Regions from separate parts of the Homo sapiens genome. Here all the other regions are linked to region 2. The links are contacts of gene promoters, found by promoter capture Hi-C in human tissues and cell types (Jung and others, 2019). All regions are on one chromosome and are shown on one strand. Each heading gives the region's core, a stretch centred on a gene start or on the middle of the fragment in contact. The rest is flanking DNA. Distances are from core to core; before and after follow the strand shown.

Evidence for each region. Contacts are between HindIII fragments. The study calls those that stand out against the background at their distance.
Region 1: a contact is called between a fragment that was not itself captured here and the fragment with the promoter of RNF166 in region 2, in 1 of the 25 tissues and cell types used here (lymphoblastoid cells).
Region 3: a contact is called between a fragment that was not itself captured here and the fragment with the promoter of RNF166 in region 2, in 1 of the 25 tissues and cell types used here (lymphoblastoid cells).

Annotation. Positions count from the first base shown.
Region 1 is chr16:89,924,773-89,928,141 of GRCh38, forward strand. All of the region lies in intron 1 of TUBB3 (tubulin beta 3 class III), which reads left to right. Among named protein-coding and RNA genes, the nearest start is that of TUBB3, 3.1 kb to the left of the region's middle. RefSeq lists an enhancer at 500-1,400 and a silencer at 1,167-1,826. The HindIII fragment of the contact is 3,668 bases long and covers 1-3,084 here.
Region 2 is chr16:88,704,597-88,707,796 of GRCh38, forward strand. RNF166 (ring finger protein 166) reads right to left here and starts at 1,812. Exons shown (of 6, transcript NM_178841.4): 1 at 1,575-1,812. The coding sequence starts at 1,729. It overlaps CTU2 (cytosolic thiouridylase subunit 2), which reads left to right and starts at 1,907. Exons shown (of 15, transcript NM_001012759.3): 1 at 1,907-2,002; 2 at 2,540-2,614. The coding sequence starts at 1,935. RefSeq lists an enhancer at 1,287-1,924 and silencers at 1,546-1,825, 1,866-2,175. The HindIII fragment of the contact is 44,302 bases long and covers 1-3,200 here.
Region 3 is chr16:89,728,216-89,731,390 of GRCh38, forward strand. It overlaps ZNF276 (zinc finger protein 276), which reads left to right. Exons shown (of 11, transcript NM_001113525.2): 6 at 1,020-1,103. Among named protein-coding and RNA genes, the nearest start is that of ZNF276, 8.3 kb to the left of the region's middle. RefSeq lists enhancers at 442-1,013, 1,151-1,320. The HindIII fragment of the contact is 6,200 bases long and covers 1-3,175 here.

The DNA of each region.
Region 1 (3,369 bases), core at 1-2,500, 1.2 Mb after region 2:
AGCCTGGGGGAGGGGAGACCTGGGGGACAGTGGCCTCAAATCAAACCAGGACTCCCGGAGCAGCCTCTGACAGCTGCCTTGGCCTGATGGGAGGGGCTGAGGGCTCATTAATGTGGTCACTGGGGCCAAGCCTCCCCTGAGCATCTGCTCCTGGGAGGGTCAGGGGTCGCTGGGGGGAGGGAGGGCAGGCAGCCCTGGGGCTCCTGGGAGGGTCAGGGGTCTCTGGGGAGAGGGAGGGCAGGCAGCCCTGGGGCCCACCTGGGGTTTCTCCTTCTATGGCTGGGATGGGCCCAGAGCTGTGGTCCCACAAGGCACTTGTCAGGCAAGAGCTGGGATCTAGAAGTCAGGTGCACATGCAGACATCCCCTGAGGCTCCACGGGTAGCAGAGGGAGCCCTTGTCCCCTGGACCGTGTCCTTGGCTGCCTTGTGCTCTGCTTCTGAACACTGGAGCTCTTAGTTTGCCCGCTACTTTTTATTCCTTTTGAGTTGTTTGTTTTTTCTTAATATATTTCTTTTTAAAAATTAATACCTGGCCGGGCACGGTGGATGAGGAATCTCATGTAATCCCAGCACTTTGGGAGACTGAAACTGGAGGATCACTTTAGCGAAGGAGTTCAAGACCAGCCGGGATAACATGGTGAAACTCCGTTTCTTAAAAAAAAAAAAAAAAAAATTAGCCTGGCGTGGTGGGCCGCGCCTGTAGTCCCAGCTACCTGGGAGGCTGAGATGGGAGCATTGCTTCAGCGTGGGAGGTCGAGGCTGCAATGAACTATGACCGCACCACTGTACTCCAGACTAGGCGATAGAGTGAGATCCTGTCTCACAGTAATAATAGTATCTGATTCTTTTTAACAATGAAAGCAACAGAGAAGGAAATTTTCTCGGGGGCGGGGGCGGCAAGAGCGTGTTCCTTTGCTCTGCTGCCCTTGTGGAATCAATGGGAAGTTCCTTGGCCGTTCTCGGCCTCCACTCCCGCAGCTGATAGGGGGTGCAACGCGGCTGCTTCCCTGTCTGGGGTCCTCGGGCGGTGCCTGGCTGGGCAGGAAGGCCCGTGCACTCTGGGCAGAGGGAAGTCGGGGTGACTCGAGGCCGGGAGCAAAGCCGGGTCCCGGGCGGTCACGCGGCAGCGCGGACGACTCACCGCGGTCACCCCTGCGCTGGGAGCCGAGCCCCCGGCAGCTCGCGGGGATGCAGTAAGCCGGGCGCAGCCCGCCGGGAGGATGAGAAAACCCGAAGCCCGGAAAGCCGAGCGGCCGCCTGCAGTCACCCCGGGGGGGGCAGGGGCGGGCCGGGCTATGCAGAAACACCGGGGCCCGCGGGACACAGGACGCTGCCCCACTGCCGCAGAGCTGAATCTGGACCCCCGGGCTTTGCTTTCCTGGGGCCTGTGCTCCTCCCTCCCCGGGGCGGGGTTCGCCTGCAGCGGCGGAGGGGGGAGCCTTTGTCCTCCGCGCGGGCTGCGGCACCGCCTCCTCGCGGCTGCGGGGCGGGGCTGGGGGCGGGGCCTGGCCGTCTCAGCCAATGGGAGGCGGAGTCCCTGGCTCGCCCCGCCCTCTCGCCTGAAAGACCTGCGGAGCCGCGGGCCGGGCGGGAACCGCATTCGGGTCCTGGAGGGGCTTGGAGGCCCCAGTCTCGCAGCCCCTTCATCGGGGACCCCCGCTCCCACCTGCCTTGGCCACTGCCCTCAAAGCCCGGCCCCGCTTTCCCCAGGACCCCAAGCGCTGCGCGAGGTCAGCACCAAGGACAGCGCCCGGGCCGAGCGCCTGGCCTCGAACGCCGGGTTCTGCTTTGTGTTTCCAGGTTTTTGTTTTTGGTTATGAGAGGAGGCCTGGCTCTGTCGCCCGGGCTGGCGTCCAGAGGCGCGATCTCGGCTCACTGCAGCCTCGGCCTCCCGAGTAGCTGGGACCGCAGGCGCTCACCACCACGCCTGGCCACAATTTTCCTTTTTTCTTATTTTCTTTTAGATGGAGTTTGGCTCTTGTTGCCCAGGCTGGAGTGCAGTGGCGCGATCTCGGCTCATTGCAACCTCCACTTCCTGGGTTCAAGCTATTCTCCTGCCTCAGCCTCCTGAGTAGCTGGGATTACAGGCGCCCGCCACCACACCTGGCTTATTTTGTACTTTTACTAGAGATGGGGTTTCTCCATCTTGGTCAGGCTGGTCTCAAACTCCTGACCTCAGGTGATTCACCTGCCTCAGCCTCCCAAAGTGCTGGGATTGCAGGCATGAGCCACCACGCCGGGCCGATTTCCTTTTCTGTAGTGATGTTAACAATTTAGTTTATAAAATTATATTTTATTGTTTATTAAATATGTAACATAGGCCAGGTGCGGTGGCTCACACCTGTAATCCCAGCACTTTGGGAGGCCGAGGTGGGTGGATCACCTGAGGTCAGCACTTCAGGGCCAGCCTGGGCAACATGGCAAGACTCCGTGCCTACAAAAAATAAAAAACAAAAAAAATTAGCTGGACATGGAGGCACGCCGGCCTGTGGTCCCAGCTACTTGGGAGACAGAGGTGGGAGGATCACCTGGGGGAGGTGGGCAGAGGTTAAAGTGAGCTGAGGTCATGCCCCTGCATTCTAGCCTGGGCAATAGAGCAAGACCCTATCTAAAAAAAAAAAAGGAACAATATATTTTATTACTTTATCTCAAATTATAATTTTATTAATTTTAACTACAAAAGCAATTAATATATTCTCCTGGTTAAAAAAAACCTTAAATATTGCAGATAAACCTGGTGCCCATCTAGCCACCTCTCTCTATCCAAGTGGGAACAAATTTCTTTTTCTATCCTTCTGGTCCATTTTTTTTAAGTGACCTGTGCATATGGTTTTAAAACTTTAAATAGTATCTAAAACATTTGAACAAAATGAAGCCAACATGTGCTGAATGTTTTCATGTCAAGCTTTGTGCTAAGGCCTGGATGTGGGCACCATTCACACGTTCATCTCACAGATGAGAAAACAGGTCCTGCGAGGCACGCGCCTGGCCCACAGCTGTGCTCGTGCTGGGTCTTGAATCCACTCTGCTCCATTGCTCCTGCTGCCCTGTGCCTCGCTCTGCAGAGGACTTCCCATAGATGTGTTACTCTCTCCACCCCTCCTTTACAGGGGCTGGTGGTTGTGGGTTCCCTGGAACCATAAATTTGGGGTGTCCCAGTGCTTTGGGGAGCAAGGTCCCCGACTCAAGTGGACTGCCAGCAACTAAATTAATGGGGGATCCTCAAAGAGAGTGTTAGGGAGGCAAGCAGTAGGTGGGAAGCTTGGACAAGCCCCAAATGCCTCAGGGACCTTTCTGTATTTTTTTTTTGAGACAGGCTCTTACTCTGTCGCCTGGACTGGCATGATCTAGGCTCACTGCAACCTCCA
Region 2 (3,200 bases), core at 562-3,061:
GAGGCTTTTCTAAAACAAGGCCTAAGTCAAGCCTCACAGCGCTCAGTAACAGATGAGAAGGTGCGGAACACACCTTCAAACACCCGCTACCTGCTCACAAGAAGGAAGTCCTGCCAGGCGCGGTGGCTCACGCCTGTCATCCCAGCACTTTGGGAGGCTGAGACGGGCAGGTCACCGGAGGTCAGGAGTTCGAGACCAGCCTGGCCAACATGGTGAAACCCCTTGTCTACTAAAAATACAGCAATTAGCCGGGCGTGGTGGCGGGTGCCTGTAATCCCAGCTACTCTGGAGGCTGAGGCAGGAGGATCACTTGAACCCAGGAGATGGAGGTTGCGGTGAGCCGAGATGGCGCCACTGCACTCCAGGCTGGGTGACAAGAGCAAGACTCTGTCTCAAAAAAAAATATTCCCGTTCAGAGGCTGCCCCCCCAAAATGTCACGGCTAAGTGAGATGGAGGAGCAGGGGCAGAGCCTGTAGCAGCCTCACAAGAGAAGTAGGTAGAGCTGTCCCAGCGTGGGCAGGCGCCTGTGCTGCCTGACACAGGTAATGAAGGCAGCTCTGCATCCTGACACTGGCCCTGCCACCTCCGTGGGTGACCAGCACACATCCACCTAGCAGTCCCAGCTCCCTCTGTACCAGGAGCCCCTGAAGTCAGCTGACTTTGCTTGCAAAATGTTCTAGAGCCTCCTACCAGTCTGGGTGCACCCCCCTCCACTCCACCACCTCAGCAGCTTGGATGTCTGCGGGGAAGCCCTCCTGCTCTCTCTCTCCCCTGCCACTGCTGATTTTGCTCAAGAGCTGTATTATTCAGCACTTAGGAGGGAGCAGACACTGATCTAGGCTTCCTCCCAACGGGGCTGGCAGCTCCAGAATACTTGAGCACAGCTCCCCGCCAGGAGAGCCACGTCCTCCAGTTTCTGTTCCTGAAACACCCTGGAGGAGCCGGCTGTGAGCCCTGGTGCAGCTGGAAACCCCAGCAAGGTGGTCAGTGTCTGCTCCTCTGTGGACCAGCCTGCCTGGCTACTCAGTGATCGGTGTGACTCAAGTTCTCCTTCAAACAAAACTAAGAACATCAGACTCCAAACAAGCCCCTCTAAACTTTAGGGAACTCCTTTCCTCTGTAGTCAAAACAGGCAGACAGCGGGTCCGAACAAGAGTTGATAGCAAAAACTACAAGTTATTTATTTACAACTGCCCATTCCAGCCGCACAAGCCCAAATCCACCACCACTGGCGGAGCGGTGGCACCTGCTGCCCTCTGAGTACCGGAGCGCCCGCCGCAGCCGCCGGGGACCCCGAGCTTGGGCAGGGCCGCAGGTCGCCCGGTGAACCGAAGCAGCAGTCGGACCGGGCGCCTGCGGCTGGCGCGAAGGAGGCTGGGCGGGGGATGAACGCGCCCAGAGGGCAGAGGCGGCGCGGCACAGGGAAACCCGGACCCCACGCGCCCCGAGGCCCCGGCGCCCCGAGTCCCCGCGCGCCCAGTCCGGAGCTGCACCGGGGCGGCCGCCGGCCTCGCGACCCCTCCCGCGGCGGGGCACGGCCCCCTCCCCGCGGCCCCTGGGCGGGCGCGCTCACGTGTGGCCGCAGCTGCCGATGGCCACGGGCCGGTGATAGACCTCCAGGCAGATGGGGCAGGTGTACTGCGCCTCCAGGCCGCTGTCGCCGCCCGCCGGCCCGGCCGGCGGCTGCCGCTGCTGAGCCGAGGCCACCAGGCTGCGGAACATAGCCATCCCGGGGCCAGGCCCGCGCCGCCCGCCGCCCGCTGTCCTGGCCCGGGCCGGCCCGCTAGTCACAGCCGCTACTGCGCCGCGCTGACGTCATCGTAGGGCGCCGCCCCCAGCCGGGCTTCGCGGCCGTCACGGCGCCACTCCGACGTCATCGGGGCGCGCCCTCGCGCTGTCGCCGCCACAGTCTGCGACGGGACCCGGCGTGCCCATGTGTCAGGTGGGCGAGGACTACGGGGAGCCGGCGCCTGAGGAGCCGCCCCCGGCGCCGCGGCCCAGGTAAGAGCTGGCGGCCGGACCCGCCAGGCCGCCCCTCGCCTTCCCGCCGCACTCCTGCCCCGAAGGGTCCCGGCCGGGCTTGCTCCGGGAAGCCCCGCGTGGAGAGCGGGACCTCGCTCCCTAGCACTCGGGGAATGCCTGTCAAGCGGTGACGGCCACCTAGAAGGGGACTTACTCCACTGGCTCGCGCCTCTCATCCTAGCAGCCACTGGGGACGGCTCTGCCGCTGACAGTGCTGTCCTTATTCGGAGAGAACTGGTGCCGTGAAGCTGTCTCGCCTCCCCGTGTCAGCCTTGGGAGACTGAAAAGCGGCCTTTATGTGCCCCCTGAGCCGGCTTTTCTAGGCTAAACATCCCCCCAGAGCCTTTGTTTTTCTTGAAGTTTGGACAGAACACAAGCCTGGGTTTGTGTGTGTACCGAGGTGCCTTTCTCTGACCCAACTCAGGGTGAGAAACAGGAGCTGTCTCCCCAAAGCCCACTAGGCGTGGGGAAGATGTGATCTGTGTTTCTCTCTTCTCCCCCCTCCCATCTCCAAAGCCGTGAGCAGAAGTGTGTGAAGTGCAAGGAAGCGCAGCCCGTTGTGGTGATACGAGCCGGAGATGCCTTCTGCAGGTGAGGCCTGGAGGTGGCTGAGACCCTGGCAAACATGGCCTCGCTAGCAGACAGGATAGCCGCAACTTGTGATGCTTTGTTAATTCTTTTTAAAAACATGTACTTACTTTATTCCTGCTCCTGATGGGGTCCCTCGTGCCCCTGGTGTTGAAGTGGAGGCGAAAGCATTGGTTTCCTGCTTGGGAAAGTTTCCCATGAGCTAGCCACAGATCCCCTGATGAGGTTTCTGATGGAACTTATGGGGACAGTTGGAAGTGGGGCCGTGGTGTCTAGACTGGGATAAGCTGTAGGAGGACCAGGCGTTTGGGGGCAGCTGGAATACATCTAGGGGCGGATCAGAGCATCTTGGGAACTTGGCAGATGGTCTGGGTGAAAGTTTTTAATCTCGTGTGAGATGCTTGTTTCATCTGTGGCAGGATAGAGGCTTGGAAGACCTCTAGCTTTCCCCCAGGCGCTTGTCATGTCTTTCTTGGCTTGTAGCCATTGTATTGTTCAGTTGTTTCCACTAGACTCATAGCTCCCTGAAGGGAGGACCAGGTCTCTCTCCTTTTAGCCCTCTTAATTCCCAGTGGTGGTGCGTGGTTTT
Region 3 (3,175 bases), core at 331-2,830, 1.0 Mb after region 2:
TTTTTTCCTTTTGTGAACTTTTTTTTTTAGACCGAGCCTTACTCTGTTGCCCAGGCTGGAGTGCAGTGGTGTGACCTCAGCTCACTGCAAACTCCACCTCCCGCGTTCAAGTGATTCTCCCGCCTCAGCCTCCCGAGTAGCTGGGATTACAGGCGCCCGCCACCACACCCAGCTAAGTTTTGTATTTATTTATTTTTTTTTTATTTGAGACGGAGTCTCGCTGTGTTGCCCAGGCTGGAGTGCAGTGGCACAATCTCGGCTCACTGCAAGCTCTGCCTCCCGGGTTCACGCCATTCTCCGGCCTCAGCCTCTGAGTCGCTGGGACTACAGGCACCCGCCACCACGCCCGGCTAATTTTTTGTATTTTTAGCAGAGACGGGGTTTCACTTTGTTAGCCGGGATGGTCTTGATCTCCTGACCTCGTGATCCGCCCGCCTCTGCCTCCCAAAGTGCTGGGATTACAGGTGTTAGCCACCGCACCCGGCCAATTTTTGTATTTTTAGTAGAGACGGGGTTTCACGGTATTGGCCAGGCTGGTCTTGAACTCCTGACCTCATGCGATCCACCTACGTCACCCTCCCAAAGTGCTGGGATTACAGGAGTTAGCCTCTGCACCCAGCCACTTTTGTGAACTTAGAAGTGACTCATGGCAAACCCATCAGTTGCATAGGGTTCGCAGTTATGGGGTGAGGTGGTCGATTTCTCAAAGTCTGCTTAGCAGGAAGCTACCTTTGAGCGCCTCCACCCCTTCTGGGCCGCTGTGGAAAGGGCTGTTTCCAAGTCCAGTGTCCTGGTGCCCAGAGCACATGGCTTGTGGGGATTGCTGGCTTGTGAGCCTGGCTGGCCCTTTGTGTTCGGAAACGGGATTGGAAATTTGGGGATTTTAGATTTAAGACATTTTCAGAAGAACTCAAATGTGGGACATGGGGGTCCATTTGGTATCTTTAGGCAGGAGGTCGTGTTGGGTCTGTCACTGCCCAGGCCCAGGGCTTTGCTGAAGATTCTCTCTTAATTCCTAGAGACGTCTTGAGTGAAGATGAAAATGACAAGAAGCAAAATGCCCAGTCTTCGGACGAGTCCTTTGAGCCTTACCCAGAAAGGAAGTAAGTGGGCAGCCCGGGGTCTGCTGGAGGCATCCGTTGGGCGACCTAGACACCCGCCTGTGCTCCAGGGCCTCTCCCCGGTGCCCACTCAGTTCACTCTCTCGTGTGCGGATCTCCCGAGCCCAGTGAAACGTGGCTTCCCTCAGTGAGCGGGAGGCGGGGGAGGGGCAGGCGGGCAGGTGAGAAGGTGGGTCCTCCTGGTGCTTTGGAGCTGGGACCTGGTCTCGGCACTGTGAGGCTGCCTCAGAGTCCCAGCAGTGGATGGCAGGTGTCTCTGTCGACAGAACCCCGCCTTGCTTGAGAAGGAGGCTCTTACGTCCCTTCTGCCGGTCCTGCCCTGGGTTCACACCCCAGTGTACCCCCGAAGCCCCCAACCCGTCGCTTCTGCTTTGTGTGCGTCCCCAGAGGCCCGAGGACCCAGCTCTGTCATCCTCCCAGTTCTGACCCCATCACTGATGTCCATGGCCAGGCAGCCACGGTCCACTTCCCTGTTGAATGACTTCTGTGAGCTTGTTTTGACTTTGTTTTTAGGGATTTTTATTTTCTCTCTTCAGTTAGAACACAGGCCCTGGTAGTGAGGGCTGGTTTTCACTTGTGCTGTTTTCTTTGCAGCCCTATACCCAGCAGTACCCAGAACACTCCCAGGTAGTTGGTGACTGACCCAGTCCCTGTCCTTGAGCATTTCACAGCCCAGAACAAAGGTCCAGAGGGCAGGTGGCTCTGAGCACCACCGTCAGCCACTAGAACCCTGCTGTGCAGACTGAGAGGTCAACGGCCTTTTTTCATGGAAGTTCTGATGCTGTTAAGTTCTGAAAAGAGAAACGGGAGCAGTGGAGGAGGCCCGGAGAGAGATGCGAAGCAGAGGGCAGGACTGAGCCAGAGGGGCTGCAGCAGCTTCAGCATGAACAGAAAACTGGTCAGGCCCAGAAAAGGTGCCCGGGGGTCCCTACCCCCAGGCTTGTTCCCAGGAGTCATGGCTGGGAGTGCCGCCTGAGGCTGCTGTACGGAAGCCCCCACTCCGTGACCCTCCGGGTTGAGTCTGAATCCCAGGACACCTGAGAATGTGTCTCTGGCTTGCTGCCCAGAAGGTCTGGGGCTGCTGGTGTGAGGAGGGCTGGGAGCTGGGATGGGAGGAGCCAGGCGAGCCTTTTCCGGATCGAGGCAGATTCAGGAGGGGAGGGTCCTCTCTGCTGAGCCCCTGCTGCTGTGACAGGGACAGCACACTCAGACTGTGTCACTAGTCCCTCTGGGACCCCAGGAGTGCAGACAAAGACGTGCTTTGGAACAGAGACACGGGAGATACGTTTTCAGAGGTCTCTAATAAAAGGGGTGACTTCAGTGGAAACCGCTGCGCAGGAGGCAGGACTGGGTGGTAGCAAGCATGGCCTCCTGACTGCGGCGAGTACCAGGGGCACTTGGTTCCCCAGCTGCCACCGTGAGACCCCCCTGGGAACCCAGAAGGGCCTCTGCACAGCCCCCGGCCCGTGTGCTGCCTCCCAGTCTTGTCAACCCTGACCTTGGAGTTCTAGCGGGCGTGCCCGCCTGTGTCCTCAGCTGGGGGCGCATGAGAAGAGACTTCTGTGATGTGTTAATGAGGGGTCAGTGGTTCCCGCCAGAGGGGAAGGCCAGGGCCTGCACCCCCATGGGGAAAGAACTGACAGGCAGCAGTGAGGCCTGAGCCCAGCCCACCCGGTCCGCAAAGATTCCCGTCCCAAACACGAGGGCACAGAGACTGCGGGTGCTCTGAAGCCTCCTGTGCTGAGGAGGTGAGTGGTCATTGTGGGAACGGCATGGCCAGCCACTCACAAACAAGGGGCCACCCAATCCAGGCAGGCAGGGCAGGTGAGGGGGACATGTGGCTAGGTCATGAAAACCAGTTATTAGGGACAGGGAGAGAAGGCGCAGCCTGTGCGAAGTCAACAGTTCTTCTCAGTGCGTTTTTGTCTTGTTTCTGAGATGGAGTCTTGCTCTGTTGCCCAGACTGGAGTGCAGTGGCACGATCTTGGCTCACTGCAACCTCCGCCTCCCGAGTTCAAGTGATTCTCCTGCCTCAGCCTCCTGAGTAGCTGGGA